2 separate regions of the Homo sapiens genome follow, and region 1 is linked to region 2. Evidence: promoter capture Hi-C in human tissues and cell types (Jung and others, 2019). All regions are on one chromosome and are shown on one strand. The core of a region is centred on a gene start or on the middle of the fragment in contact, and the rest is flanking DNA. Distances in the headings are between cores, read along the strand shown. Region 1 holds the start of CTSC (cathepsin C). Region 2 holds the start of FZD4 (frizzled class receptor 4).

Evidence for each region. Contacts are between HindIII fragments. The study calls those that stand out against the background at their distance.
Region 1: a contact is called between the fragment with the promoter of CTSC here and the fragment with the promoter of FZD4 in region 2, in 1 of the 25 tissues and cell types used here (IMR-90 fibroblasts).

The regions. Positions count from the first base shown.
Region 1 is chr11:88,335,846-88,342,612 of GRCh38, forward strand. CTSC (cathepsin C) reads right to left here and starts at 1,891. Exons shown (of 7, transcript NM_001814.6): 1 at 1,656-1,891. The coding sequence starts at 1,827. LOC101929174 (a long non-coding RNA gene) reads left to right here and starts at 2,039. Exons shown (of 5, transcript NR_188511.1): 1 at 2,039-2,211. RefSeq lists an enhancer at 1,607-1,886. The HindIII fragment of the contact is 12,694 bases long and covers 1-5,156 here.
Region 2 is chr11:86,953,743-86,960,342 of GRCh38, forward strand. FZD4 (frizzled class receptor 4) reads right to left here and starts at 1,653. Exons shown (of 2, transcript NM_012193.4): 1 at 1,059-1,653. The coding sequence starts at 1,343. FZD4-DT (FZD4 divergent transcript) reads left to right here and starts at 1,879. Exons shown (of 3, transcript NR_038905.1): 1 at 1,879-1,970; 2 at 4,240-4,284. RefSeq lists silencers at 1,331-1,380, 1,511-1,880, 2,231-2,380. The HindIII fragment of the contact is 8,131 bases long and covers 1-5,939 here.

The sequences.
Region 1 (6,767 bases), core at 641-3,140, 1.4 Mb after region 2:
AAGACACAAAATGATCTATTCGGAGAAGAAATGGGGTACCTTTCTCCTCAAAGGCTCTACAGTTTAGAACCTCATAATCTGAATCCTTCCAAAGTTTATTCAGCAAACTAGAGGTCTGTATCCTATAAAACCAATTAGTGCTGATAGGAATGATACGTTTAACCTTCATAGATGAGGGCTCAGACCTGTGGGTGCCTTTAATTACTGAATTAAGGCCAAAGGTAATTTTATAGGCAGAGCCTTCCTGAAAATGATTCAGCTGTGTCCATCTGGAGAGTTGTGTATTTTAAAGTTTTTCCATGTTTGAGAGTAATGCTCTGACATGGGAGATTGCATGTGACAGGGCAGTGCAAATCCTGATCTCTTTCTGCCCCAACCTTCAAACTCAAATTTAAAAAAAAAAAAAAAAAAAAGGCCAGGCGTGGTGACTCCCGCCTGTAATCCCAGTACTTTGGGAGGCCGAGGCGGGCGGATCACGAGGTCAGGAGATGGAGACCATCCTGGCTAACACAGTGAAACCCGTCTCTACTAAAAATACAAAATATTAGCCGGGCGTGGTGGCATGTGCCCGTAATCCTAGCTACTCGGGAGACTGAGGCAGGAGAATCGCTTAAACCCGGGAGGCGGAGGTTGCAGTGAGCCGAGATCCCGCCACTGAACTACAGCCTGGGTGACAGAGCAAGACTCCATTCTCAAAAAAAAAAAAAAAAAAGTTACAATGTTCAGGATTATGAAATGCTATACAGTCAGTTAAAAAGGTATTTCTTTAGTAACAAATGACTTAATCTTTGTTCTGTTGACAAGAAAATTATAGCTGATTTTTTACTGACTCTGCAGAAGTCACAGGCTGTAAGAGGGTTTGGGTAGACCACAGTGTGACTCTTCTAACTAGTGATTGTCTTTTTTCCACCCCACCCCCTTCACTAGGTTCTTTGTTCTAGGGGTAACCATGTTATCTGAAGGCATATGGAATATCTCCAGTATGTTCAAACACTAGGTATTTATTGAGAGCCTTCCATGAGCCAAACATTGTGCAGACTCTGGGCATTTCTAATTACTAGGTTCAGAGTTAAGTTTTCTTTGTTATTAATTTTTTAAAAAATTTTTACCTCCTTGCAATGCATGAAACAATGCAGAGTGGTACTAGCCGTTTTCTAGTACTCATCAACACCCGCTCAAACCAAAATCGCTGGGCAGAAAGTCCCTTTCCCACCATCTAACAAAAAGAGAAAACTTCATGCTATATCCTCGAGAGTCTCTGAGCTCATCTATCTTCACTAGTAAAATAGTAATAAAAAATAAAAATAAATTTTAAAAATAACGCTACCAGATCGGACTGGAGAACCAAACGATTGCAGTTCCCAAGTCTCTCTCAAAGCAAACAAAATTAAGCGGGAGGAATAAAAAAGTTCTTGATCAAAGTGTTGAGTCCCCAAGATAACCAAGAAAGTGTGGAGTTAGAAGTTCTCAGCAGATGAACTTTAACTTCGCGAGCCTGGCGGGGAAGAAGGTCCCCAAGGGTCCCCGAATCCAGTCAAGATGCTCTGGCCACCCACAAGCGTCTGCCTGGGGGGAAGCGGTAGTTGGCGTGGCGCTGCGTTAGGGGCTCAAGGGCAGAAAGGACGACCCGGAGGACTGCCGAGCCGGCGGCTTACCCATAACCGAGCAGTTGACATCGCGCTGGGAACCGCTGGAGCCCACCTGGAAGACCCAGGTGCCCAGCAGGTCAAGATAGGTGCAGTTGGCAGGTGTGTCGCAGCGCACGGCGCCGTCGCCGGAGAGAAGCAGCAGGAGGGCGGCGAGCAGCAAGGAGGGCCCAGCACCCATGCTGCAGGGAGCTGAGAAAAGAGGTGAAGAATTACCAGGAAGCCGAGCGCTGCGGGCTAGCGGTGAGTCCACCACGAGGCGCGCGCCTTGAAATAGCTACGCCGGCCCGGAAACCCGTGGGCGGGGTCACTGAGCAGCAGGGGATTGGGGGTTGGGCGCCAGGCGCGTGCGCGTCTCTGAAACGGGGACTTGGGAGCGCGCGCTGCCCCTCACTTGGCTGCAACTGGACCCAGAACTAGGGAAGAGGCCAGGGACAGATTTTTTTTTTTTATTTTTATTTTTTTTGCCGAGGGACGTTTCAAAATTTTGCACGGCCAGGGTGACAAAAAGAGGATTTAAGAGCCACAAGCGGTCCGCACATGACCCAGACTTCGTTCCTGTGCGGTAACGTAGGGAGAGAAGGAAAGGGTGTGGGGGGAATAAGGGAGTGGGTCAGGTGAAAGAGCGCGACAGAGGGAGAGATCTAGCAAGTGGAGTTCTGTTTTACTTGCTATTCTTCCCCTTTAGTCTTTTTTCTCAGGTCCACTTGCCTCATAACCAACTTCTTGTTTTTTCCTCTGAAAAACTTCGCTAGCTAACATCAACTATTCCAGCTGTTTGAGAACTTATCTTCCTTCCGTTTTCCAACTCTTCCTACTTTTTTATGTGCTTGATTTTGTTTTGTTTCCTGGTAAATGCTGTTTGCCTGTTTGCATTCAGCAGAATTCAGTTTTTGTGCAAACCTGCAGTTTTGATGTATTAGCGTTGTGGGGGTTTTCCCTCTGGCACGCACACACATGGCGCTCTCAGAGATGATATTGCTCAACCCCTTTTATGTTACAGAGGAAAAGCAAGAGGCCCAGAGAGAGGAAGCGGCTTGCCCAGGGTGAGAAGGGTGAGGAAGGAAGCTAGCCAATGGGAGAAGGCTGGTCTTATGAACCGTTCTAGTGTGTCAGTCTGATCGCCAAAAATTATTAGGTGGCACTATTTCCAGGTGCCTCCTTGCTCAGTTTAAGTATCACCCTTTTCCGTAAGAGCCTCCCGTTCTTTCCTGGCTTTTGTTGGTAATTGGGGCTCCTTTCTCCCACTGAGCCTACTAGGTGTCAGGCCCTGTGGACACAGTGATGAACAAGACAGACCTGATGTGTCCCCGTTTTCTTTGGGATATGAATTTTTGCCCCCTTTGCACTGGTCACAAATCAATATTCATATGTCCATTTTTTTTCCACCAGATTATAAACATTCAAAGAGAGCAGGTCCAAATTATTCACTTATATCTCCCTAGATTCTGGTTTATTCAGAAAGTGTCCTTGAGTGTTAAAATAAGTGTACTTAATATTCTTATCTTGGTTGCCAAGCTTGAAAGCCAGTTTCAATGAGGCAAAAGGAGTTGTCCTTGAAAGTTCAGAGGTGAAAATACTCTTCAATGGGGGCACAAATTTCCAAAGCCTGGGGCGGGGTTGGTGGCGGGGGGTTGGGGAACACCTTGCTTTTAGGTTTTATATACCTTCTTAGAATTGAAAGCTGACATTGTATAATTAAGCTAACACACTATTTATTTAAAGATACCCTGACAGATTAAGCTTCCCTTCCTGAATCTCTAGGAAGGTGTGTTACTGATTGTTAAAACATTAAATTTGTATTAGGTCATCAATATTGAAGAGCCAGTTTAGGTGGAAATTTCTTTGATGAATGTAATCAAAGCAACACACTTAATTGTAAAGAAAGTTTAAAACAGTCTTTATTCAATGATTGAATAATAGAAAAAGATCTTGTGGACCTCTTAGTCTAATGGATTCATTTTAAAATTGGGAAATGGAGATTCAGAGAGTTAAATCACTTGCTGAATGTCATATTGCCACTTAGTAAGATTTAAGAATGAACCTCAGGCACATTGATTTTCAGTTTAGTTTATTTCTACTAATCTAATAATTCCCATACTGTTCTCTCTCAAAAATAACTACTAACTCTCCATTCCACGCACACACAAAAAATTGATTCTCAAACTGATCAGACCCCAAATCCTTTACTTTCTGAAATGAAATTAATATATAAACTGCTTACACACTTAATAAAAAGAAATGTAATGCCAAATGTAATATAAAGAAGAAATCAGATATTTTAAATATATTTCTAGTATAATAAGTTATATCCCATCATGTAAAATGTTCAAGTATGACTGTGTTGGAAAACATAATGAGGCACTCAGATACTTGCTCTTCACACTTCTGTAACCACCCAATGGATTCACCTGGCCTGCTGCCTAGACAGAGCCAATTTATCAAGACAGGGGAATTGCAATGGAGGAAGAGTAATTCATACAGAGCCGGCTGTGGGGGAGACGGGAGTTTTATTATCACTCAAATCAGTCTCCCCGAGCATTCAGGGATCAGAGTTTTCAAAGATAATTTGGTGGGTAGGGGCTTGGGAAGTGGGGAGTGCTGATTGGTTAGGTTGGAGATGGAATCATAGGGGGTCTAAGTGAGTTTTTCTTGCTATCTTCTGTTCCTGGGTGGGATGGCAGATATGGTTGAGCCAGATTGCTGGTCTCAGTGGTGTCAGCTGATCTATGGAGTGCAGGGTCTGTAAAATATCTCAAGCACTGATCTTAGATTTTACAATAGAGATGTTATCCCCAGAAGCAACTTGGAGGGTGGGAGGGTGCAGACTCTTGGAGCCAGAGGCCACATGACCCCTAAACTGTAATTTCTAATCTTGTAGCTAATTTGTTAGTCCTGCGAAGGCAGACTGGTCCCCAGGCAAGAAGGGAGTCTTTTTGGGAAAGGGCTATTATCAATTTTGTTTCAGAGTCAAACCATGAACTGAATTACTTCCCAAAGTTTGTTCCACCTATGCCCAGGAATGAAAAAGGACAGCTTAAAGATTAGAAGCAAGATGGAGTCGATTAGGTCTGATTTCTTTCACAGTTGTAATTTTTGCAAAGGTGGTTTCACTTCTATGTAAAATTGTAGAATCGTGGTAAATGTGATAGGAACTTTTTTCTGAGAGCACAAATGATTTCTGATGAGTTATAACTCAAATACCTTATCAATTAATCACTCAAACACCATACCAAAGTTGTTGATGTTGGACAATTCTTGGTCAAATTCCCAGGAGAACAAAGTAGAATTTTCTGTTGAAGGTTTATCAAGAGGTTGCATTCCCAAAAATTCAGTATATGTTAAAATTATATAAAACAAAAGTGAGCTTATGTGCAAAACATGGTCTGTCAGTAGGCTCCCATCATTAAAAGCAGGTTTACAGAGAGGCAGCATTACTTGGCAGTGGTTCTCAAAGTGTAGCCTAGGACCAGGGACATCAGCATCTGTCTTAGTCTGTTTTCTGTTGCTAGAACTGTACCTGAGACTCGGTAATTTAAAACAAAGAAAATTATTTTTTATAGTTCTAGAGACAGGTAAGTCCAAGGTCAAGAGGCCCCATCGAAGGGGGCCCTTCTTGCTGGTTGAGACTCTTTGCAGAATCCCAAGGTAGTACAGGGTATCACGTGGCAAAGGGGGTCATGAGAGATGGCCAAACTAGTGCTTATTACAGACCCACCCTCATGATAACTAATCCTTGATAATTCCATAATCCATTAATCTATTAACCCATGATAGATTCATCCATTCATGAGGGCACTGCCAATCACTTCTCAAAGGTCCCACCTCTCGACACATGACTTTTGGGGGACAACCTATGTTCAAACCACAGCATTCTGTCCCTGACCCCCAGAATTCATGGCCTTCTCACAATTCAAAATACAGTCATTCCATCCTAGTAGTCCCAAAAGACTGAATTTGTTCCAGCACCAACTCAAAAGTCTAAAGTGTCATCTGGGAGTTTGTGAAATCAAAACAAGTTATCTACTTCCTAGATACAATGGTGGGACAGGTATAAGGTATACACTCCCTTTCCAAAAGAGACAAACAGGCCAGAAGAAAGAAGTAACAGGCCCAAGCAAGTCAAAAACTCAGCAGAGAAGACTTAAATTTTAAGGCTGGAGAATAATCTTTCTTGATTCCATGTACAGCATCTTGTGCACATTGGGGGATGGGGTATTTCAGGAGGCCTCAAGGCACCCTGGTGCCCTCAGCTTTCCCAGGCAGGTATTGCATGCTGCTGGTGGCTCTACTGTTCTGGGGTCCTGGTGGCAGTCTGGCTCTTACAGCTGCATTAGGCATTGCCCTTAGGGGGGCTCTATGCAACAACCCCAGTTCCACTGTTCCACTTCGTATTGCCCTAGTGGAAGCTCTCTGCAGTAGCTCTACCCTCAGACAGTCCAACACATTCTTCAAAATCTAGGTGGAGGCTGCCAGGCCTCCACAGCTCTTGCATTCTATGCACCTGCAGAATTAGTACCACATGGATACTGCCATGGTTTACCACTTGTACATCCTAGAGCTGCAGGTTAATCTGCACCTGTGGCTGCTTGAACCACAGCTGGGGGCGCTGAGGAGCAGTGTGCTGGAACGCAGGGAGTAGAGACCCAAAGCAGCCCTGGGCAGCAGTCCATCCCCGGAATTATTCTGCCCTCTTAGAGCTCAGGGCCTATGAGGAAGGGGCAGCCTCAAAGATCCCAGAAATGCCTCTGGGGTTTTTAATTTCATTGTCATGGATAGCCTTTGGCTTCATTCTATCCATGGTGACCTCTTTAGCAATCTCTTGACCATACCCAAACACCCCTTTCACTGTTAAGGTGGCCAGGCTTCAAATTTTCTAATGTTTTTCTATTCTGTTTTTTCTTATATCTTACTATAAGTAGTTAAAAGAAGCCATTTAGTAGCCTAAATACTTTGCTGCTTAGATATTCCTTCCACCAGATATCCTAGTTTATCACTGTTAAGTTCTGCATTTCATAAAGTCCTAGGACATGGACAGAATTTAGCCAAGGTCTTAGCCAGTTTATAGCAGCGATGGCCTTTACTCCAGTTTCCAATACCTTGTTCCTCATTTCCATCTGG
Region 2 (6,600 bases), core at 403-2,902:
AGTAGCTGGGATTACAGGCGCACGCCACCACGCCCGGCTAATTTTTGTACTTTTAGTAGAGACAGGATTTCGCCATGTTGGTCAGGCTGGTCTCGAACTCCTAACCTCGTGAGCCACCTGCCTCGGCCTCCCAAAGTGCTGGGATTACAGGCGTGAGCCACTGCGCCCGGCCAGAAACCAGATTTCTGAAGCCTGGACAACTAACGTCTACTTTTTCCCACAACTTCTCTCTTTTCTAAATTTCTAAAAATCACCCAGCCTCACCAACCCAAACATAACCAATGTTAACACTTTAAAAATTTTCCTGTCAGTCTTTTATTATCCCAATAAATTTTTTATTTTGCAGGATTATAATCACCCTGTATATGCAAATTCTTATTACTGTGGAATAAACATTTTCTCTATCATTAGATATGCTTTACATTTTTTAATGACTGCAAAAAAATTTCTTCCAATATACCAACCACCTTCCTGCAGCTTCTTCTCACCCTCCAAGCATTAAACGTGCCTTCAACTGTGAGGATAAGAAAGAACTCAAGCCAACCCAACCACTCCTTCATGCATGACCTCTAAAACGCTGCGGGACGTCGTGAGAAGGGGCTATTCAGCAGAAAAAGGTGCAGTAGTGTTTCATTTAATAACACCCCAAAAATAGTGGGGAGAAGGAAGTTCGGTGAAGGATGGTCTCCTTATCACTCCCTCCAAGTCTTAGCTGCAGCTGGCTCCCTCCCACTCGCCCACCGAGCAGTGGCGGCCAGAATCCTTGGCAGAGATAACCCTCAGCTCCACTGGGGTTAGGGGTCTGGGCCAGACATGGGTGGGCAAGAGAGAAAAACGGAAGGGCGGGGTGTAAGAGTGGGTTCTTTCCCAGGCCAGATGACTTACACAACGTTTTGGCTTCCAGTCCCTGAGAAAGTGGGGGTGGGGATGGAAATCACTTTTCCAGGAGAGCTGTCTCCTTCGGGCTAGGATGATCAACTTGGCATGGGCTCTGCAAAGTTAGTTTGGAGCGTCCCTCCCCAAGGGGTCCCGCCAGGGGTGGGGGTGGGGGCGCCCACCTGCAGCTGGCTGGAGCAGCCGTACTGGATGAGCGGTGTGAAAGTTGTCAGCTGCAGCTCGGCGTCCGTCTGCAGCTCGTGCCCAACCAGGTTGGGCATCTTGGTCACGTTGTAGCCGAGGTTCTGGCACATGGAGATGCGGATGGGGTCGCAGCGCCGCTCTTCCTCGTCCCCGAAGCCCCGCGCCGGCCCCAGGAGCAGCAGCAACTGCAGGAGCAACCCCAGACTGAGACCGACGCCCCCGGGCGCCCCCGGGACGCTCGGCCCTGCGCCCCGCCAGGCCATGGCCAGCATCGGGGGTAGCAGCGGCAGCGGCTGGGGCTGCTCTGGCAGACACCCCCAGTTTGCACGGGGGCGCCGGCTGCCCGCGCTGCTCCCAGCTCCCGGGACGGGAGTGTGATGCGGCGACGAGGGGGCAGCGGCCGGCTCTCCAGCAGCTGCGCGCGACTGTGTGGGATTTTAGACGTCCCGGGCCGAGGCCGAGGGACAGGCTGCGAGGGTCATGGCTGCAGGCGGCGAGCCCACAAGCCGGCGCCGGCCGCGTCCGTTCGGCGTCTCCGCGAGGCCAGCCAGCAGCCAGCGCTGCGCAGCTCTCACCGCCGGAGCCCTGCGCGGCGCTGGAGGCTCGCGGCGCGGCGGCGGGGCGGGACGGACAGCGGGCCTCTCCAATGGCCGGGCGCGGTGGGCAGCTAGGGGCGAGGCGGCGGGGCGGGGCCGCTCTCCCGCAGGAGGAGTCAGGCCCCCGCCCTCCGGCCCCCTCCTCCGGCCGCCCCTCCCTCCCTCCCTCCCCTAGCGCCCCGCCCCGCCCGCCTCCCGGCTCTTGCTTTCCTCCCACCCGGATCTAGGCGCGCAGGGGCCAAGCAGGGACGCAGCCCAGTGGCTCCAGCCACGCCGTCCTGCCCCCTTCTGCAGGTGAGAAGTGCGCCCTGTTCCATCTGCCCCCTTTCCTTCCTGTCTCCTTTCAGCTGTAACCTAGGCCGGTGGCCACCTCCCCGTCAGGCAGAGAAACGTACACAAAGAATTGGGGATTTGGATTTACACCGATTGTGGCTTTCAGTCCCGGTTGTGTGACCTTGAGCAAATTGCTCAACCCCTCGGCGTCAGTCTCCTCTGTAAAGTCACTTGGGAGGATTAGAGATAAAGTGTAGAAGGCTTAGCATGGTGCCTGGTACTGCGTGAGTCCACAGCTATTTTCACTCCGGACCAGCGGCGATCGGGGCCCGGCCTCTCCCCGCCCCCAGACTCGCCCGACCTGCGCAGGGAGCCGCCCACCTCCAGCCGCCAGCGGGGAGGCGCCCCAGAGCTGCGGAGCTGCAGACCCGCCGACGGTCTCGCGCTCTGATTTCCTCACCGTATGAAATGAAATTCCACAGGGGGATTCGAAAGGAAATGAGACCGGGACTCTCCGTGCTTCTCGGCCCGCCGCCCTTCCTGTCTCGGGGACACGGTTTCTAAATAAGGTTGGGAGGGTGAGAGGGCGGGAGGGGAGAGGCTTGACCTGTGCACTGGGGACGAGGAAGGCGCACAACCACCGTGACTCCTCTCTCCCGGCCTCCCGGGCACCCCCTCCCCACCAGGCTGCACCCCTTTTTTTCTTTGCTTCTGCTTCGGCTCCTAGGGATCTGGGGATCATGTGACCCAGGTTTGAACCCAACTTTCCTGTCTCATTACCAGCCCCCCGCGGCTTTGTGCTGGTCCACCCTCTCTCTGCTTTCCAGTCGGCCAGTAAACTCCCAGCAGGTGGATTCCTCCACCGTTTACTTGTTGCTTGACTGTGTTGAAGCTATGGTGCCTCTCTGAGCCTCAAAGTGGCCGGCTGTAAAGTGGGGAAGTTCATATCCACCTCACACAGTTGTTCTAAGAGTTCAGTGAGATAATACCTGTAAATCATTTAGCAGTGTCTGACACATAATAAATGCTGAAGAACTTGGTGATTGGGGTGTGTGTGTGTGTGTGTGTGTGTGTGTGTGTGTGTGTATGTGTTTCCAAAACAGCTAGGGGAGATCAATTATGGGACAGCCTCCTGCTTTCCAGCCTGGTGCTAAAGACAGCTCCAGCAGCCCCGGAATGAGGATCTGGGTAAAAGGCTTTTCACCCTCTTCCTGAGATCTTTTTGTCCAACACTTGCCACTGTTTTATGCATGTTTTTATCCTCCCATTTCAGCCAATTCTGTGGCATATGGCAGAGGCTAGATGCAAGTTGGAAGAATGTCTGTGCCACTCATGTGACACTCATATTCTGTCTTGTATTTTTAGTCTTCTTATATTGGCAACGAGACTTGACTGAGGGCAAAAATGGAATCAACTTTTTTTTGGTATTTGGCTCTGTGCCTAGAACTGTGTTGGACACGGAGAAGCTGCATTGTCTCCAGTCATCATCATAAACTCCCAGTGAAGGAGGTTCCGTTAGCTCCTTATAGAGATTAGGAAACTGAGGCTAGAACCACAGTAATAGAAAATGACAAGACCAACCAAACCAGGGCCCAGAAGAGGCTCTTCAAAGATGGAAGGCAGGGCTATTTTCCCAGAAAAAATTCCCAGCTGGAAATCAATGTACTCAGCAATAGGATTGAATCTCTGTGTGCCTGTGCTGAGTAATGCATAAAACCCTTGGCCTACAGAGATGAATAAACGATCAGATGTAGAGATCAAATGATCTATTAATCATTTGGGTTACAGAGATGAATATATAATCAGATGAACAGATCAAATGAATAGATAATCCTCATCCTTTAGGATCTCACAGGAGGAGACAAAGGATTAACAAACAACAATAACTTAGTTTGCTAAGTGCACAGATAGAGAATTGTGGGTGAATTGAAGGTAGAAGTGGCTGAGTCTGGAGGGCTACTCAAAGGGGGATGACCTGCAAGACTCGTAGCTACTCAACAAAGTGTAGTTAGTATGCAATTGGCCCTTCTTCTAGGGAAGAGTGGTGGTGGTGGGGTGTGCTTTGTGCTGAAGATATGGTTACATGGTTTATTAAACAGTGAACTCCCTGAGGTCAAGGAGGAGGACCTGTCCCTCATACAGGGCCTGGCACACAAGGAACATCATTTGTTCTGGGTGAAGGAATACTGTTTTCAAATCAATAACAAACCACTCATATAGAACTCTTACTTTCAGACACTGTGTTACATGCCTTACATTCTTAATTTTATTTATTTCTCACAACTTGCAGAAACTGATGCTCTGAGAGGCCAAGCAGTTTGCCCAAGATTACACAGTAAGTCGTAGAGAAGAACTCATGCATGTCTGCCTGGCCCTAAACTCTGTGTGCATGGTACTGCTCTTGCAGAGGAAACTGCTTCACGCCCAGCCTAATCCATAGTTAAAGATGACCATTTTGTGATCTGGACCTCTTATTCCTAGACCTGGCATCCTGCCTCAGCTTGCTTGAAGCAATTGTCTCCTTTGAGAACACATGAAGAAGCCCCTTCCCTATCAGAAGCTTTTTCTGTCAACAGCTTTTCTTTCTAGTCGTGGAACTCATCACCAGTATTTTCCAAAAAAGAAAGCTAGGGGAATCACATTTCAGTCTGAATGTGGAAAGACAACAAAGACCATAACTTAGAGCTAAATCTGAATGGCCTGGAGCCCCTCAGCCTCCCTCTCCTGGAGTGGTTTACACAGTCCACAATCTGCCCCTGGTGACAGGCATGGCATGTTTGTCTTTGTTACAGAAAACACTTCCCGAGGGAGTCCCAGGCAGAGGGATATCCACCCTGTGACATGCACAGCATTTCTGAGAGGAAAAGATAGGGACACCTGAATAAAGTGTAGGCCATGGGCCCCTGCTAACTCTGGCTTGAGTGCCTGGGCAGTTTCCTTGGTCCAGCCTCTGAGCAGTAAAGATTCAACTACTTTGGAGCTGCAACAAACATGACTTCAACAGTCTGTTGGGCAGTTGGAGGGCTCTCCATTTGTATCTAATAAGAGGCTGGGTTCTTATTAACTCCGGTGATGTGTTAATTTTTCAACCTGACGTTTTCTGCTCTAATAGATTCTTGTAATGCTTACTAAATTAAAGGCTGCATTGGAAGAGTAATGTTTAGGTTAAAATGCATCACCTAAGGGGGTGGAAGCTATAAACATCCTTTCCCTCCTACGGGAAAATCTCTCATTTGCGGCTCTTTGCTAACCCAATTAAGTGCTGAAGTAGTTACCCTAGAGCCTGCTTTTTATTTCCTATGAAACAATCCAACTAATCCATATTCAGTAGCTTCCAAGAAAAGTCTTATTCCAACCACTCATGAAGAAACCAGCTTCTTTGAATCTAGATAGAACATTTAGAACTCACAAAGAGCTGTCTTGATGGAAAGTGCAAGAAAGTGGTTCATTATTATCTGCCTGGTTTTTGAGGGAAATAATTCACTGGGACTAAAACCCCATAAGTATTGGGAATTTACTGTGGAACAACAAAAGCAAAGCAAGAAGATGCCATGCCACATTCCATCCATTTATAAATAGGGTGTTACATCTCCCCCTGCACCCAAACTAGTTATAAAACAAAAGTGCGCCTGCTGAGTAAGGTGGAAGGGAACACTGATCTTACTTCGAGCTGAGGAATCAAAGTTCCCAAGAGATTAATACCTATTAAGTGGCAGAGCCAAACTCCCTTCTTAGTCCATTGCACCACTAGCTAGCAGAGAAGAATTGTCACCACAGAGCTCTTGCATGTCAAGAAATAGAAGCTCAAAATTTTTCCTACCCATAAGTTTAGCAAGCATTAAATGGTACATCAGACATCCTTATTTATTGGTGGTGATGAGTTAACGCAAAGATGAACAACCAAAAACCTCCATGGAAGGCAAAAAATAATGCAAACACACTTTTACCTCCATAGCCTCGTTTCGTTTCAGTGAAATTGATCAGTCAAGCTGTTAACAAATATTTAGTGATGGGTTATTGTGGACATGTCATTGAGCTGGGTACTAGGGAGTATGCAGACATGTTAAAGGTGGTTTCTGCCTTCAAGGAGCTTACAGTCACATTGGGGAAGATTAAGACATGAGACCAAGGGCAAAACAAGTTTTTTATGGTTAAGTGCATTTTGTTGAGCTTTCTTATTTCCAGTCTCCCCTTGTTGTTTTACATAAGGTTCTGTATTATAAAGTTATTGGGCTGTTTTGCTTTTGTCTCTTTCACTCTCCTCTGAAGTCAGAGGCTGTGTCTTTTTCACTACCATGCTCTTAAACAACATAGAACAATATTACCTGAGCCATAGAAGGCACTCAGTAGTTATTTGTTTAATACATAAATGAATGGTTCTGCCTATAAGTGATCTGATTATTCAGAAAAAGAAAGCCTGCATTATGAGCCGGGTATAGGCAACCGCCAAAACACTACCTAAGTGGTTCCAGAATGATGGTTAAGTCAAGATTATAAACCGCTCCTCCAAGTCAGGCATGGTTCACACTTTCAGCTTTCTTCTCAAGTCAGATGTTTTGCCAATTATTTATCTTCCTTTTTGTTTGACTGTGTCTATTCTTAAATCTTTTACAGTAGACAAATATCTTTTTTTTTTCTTTGAGATAGGGTC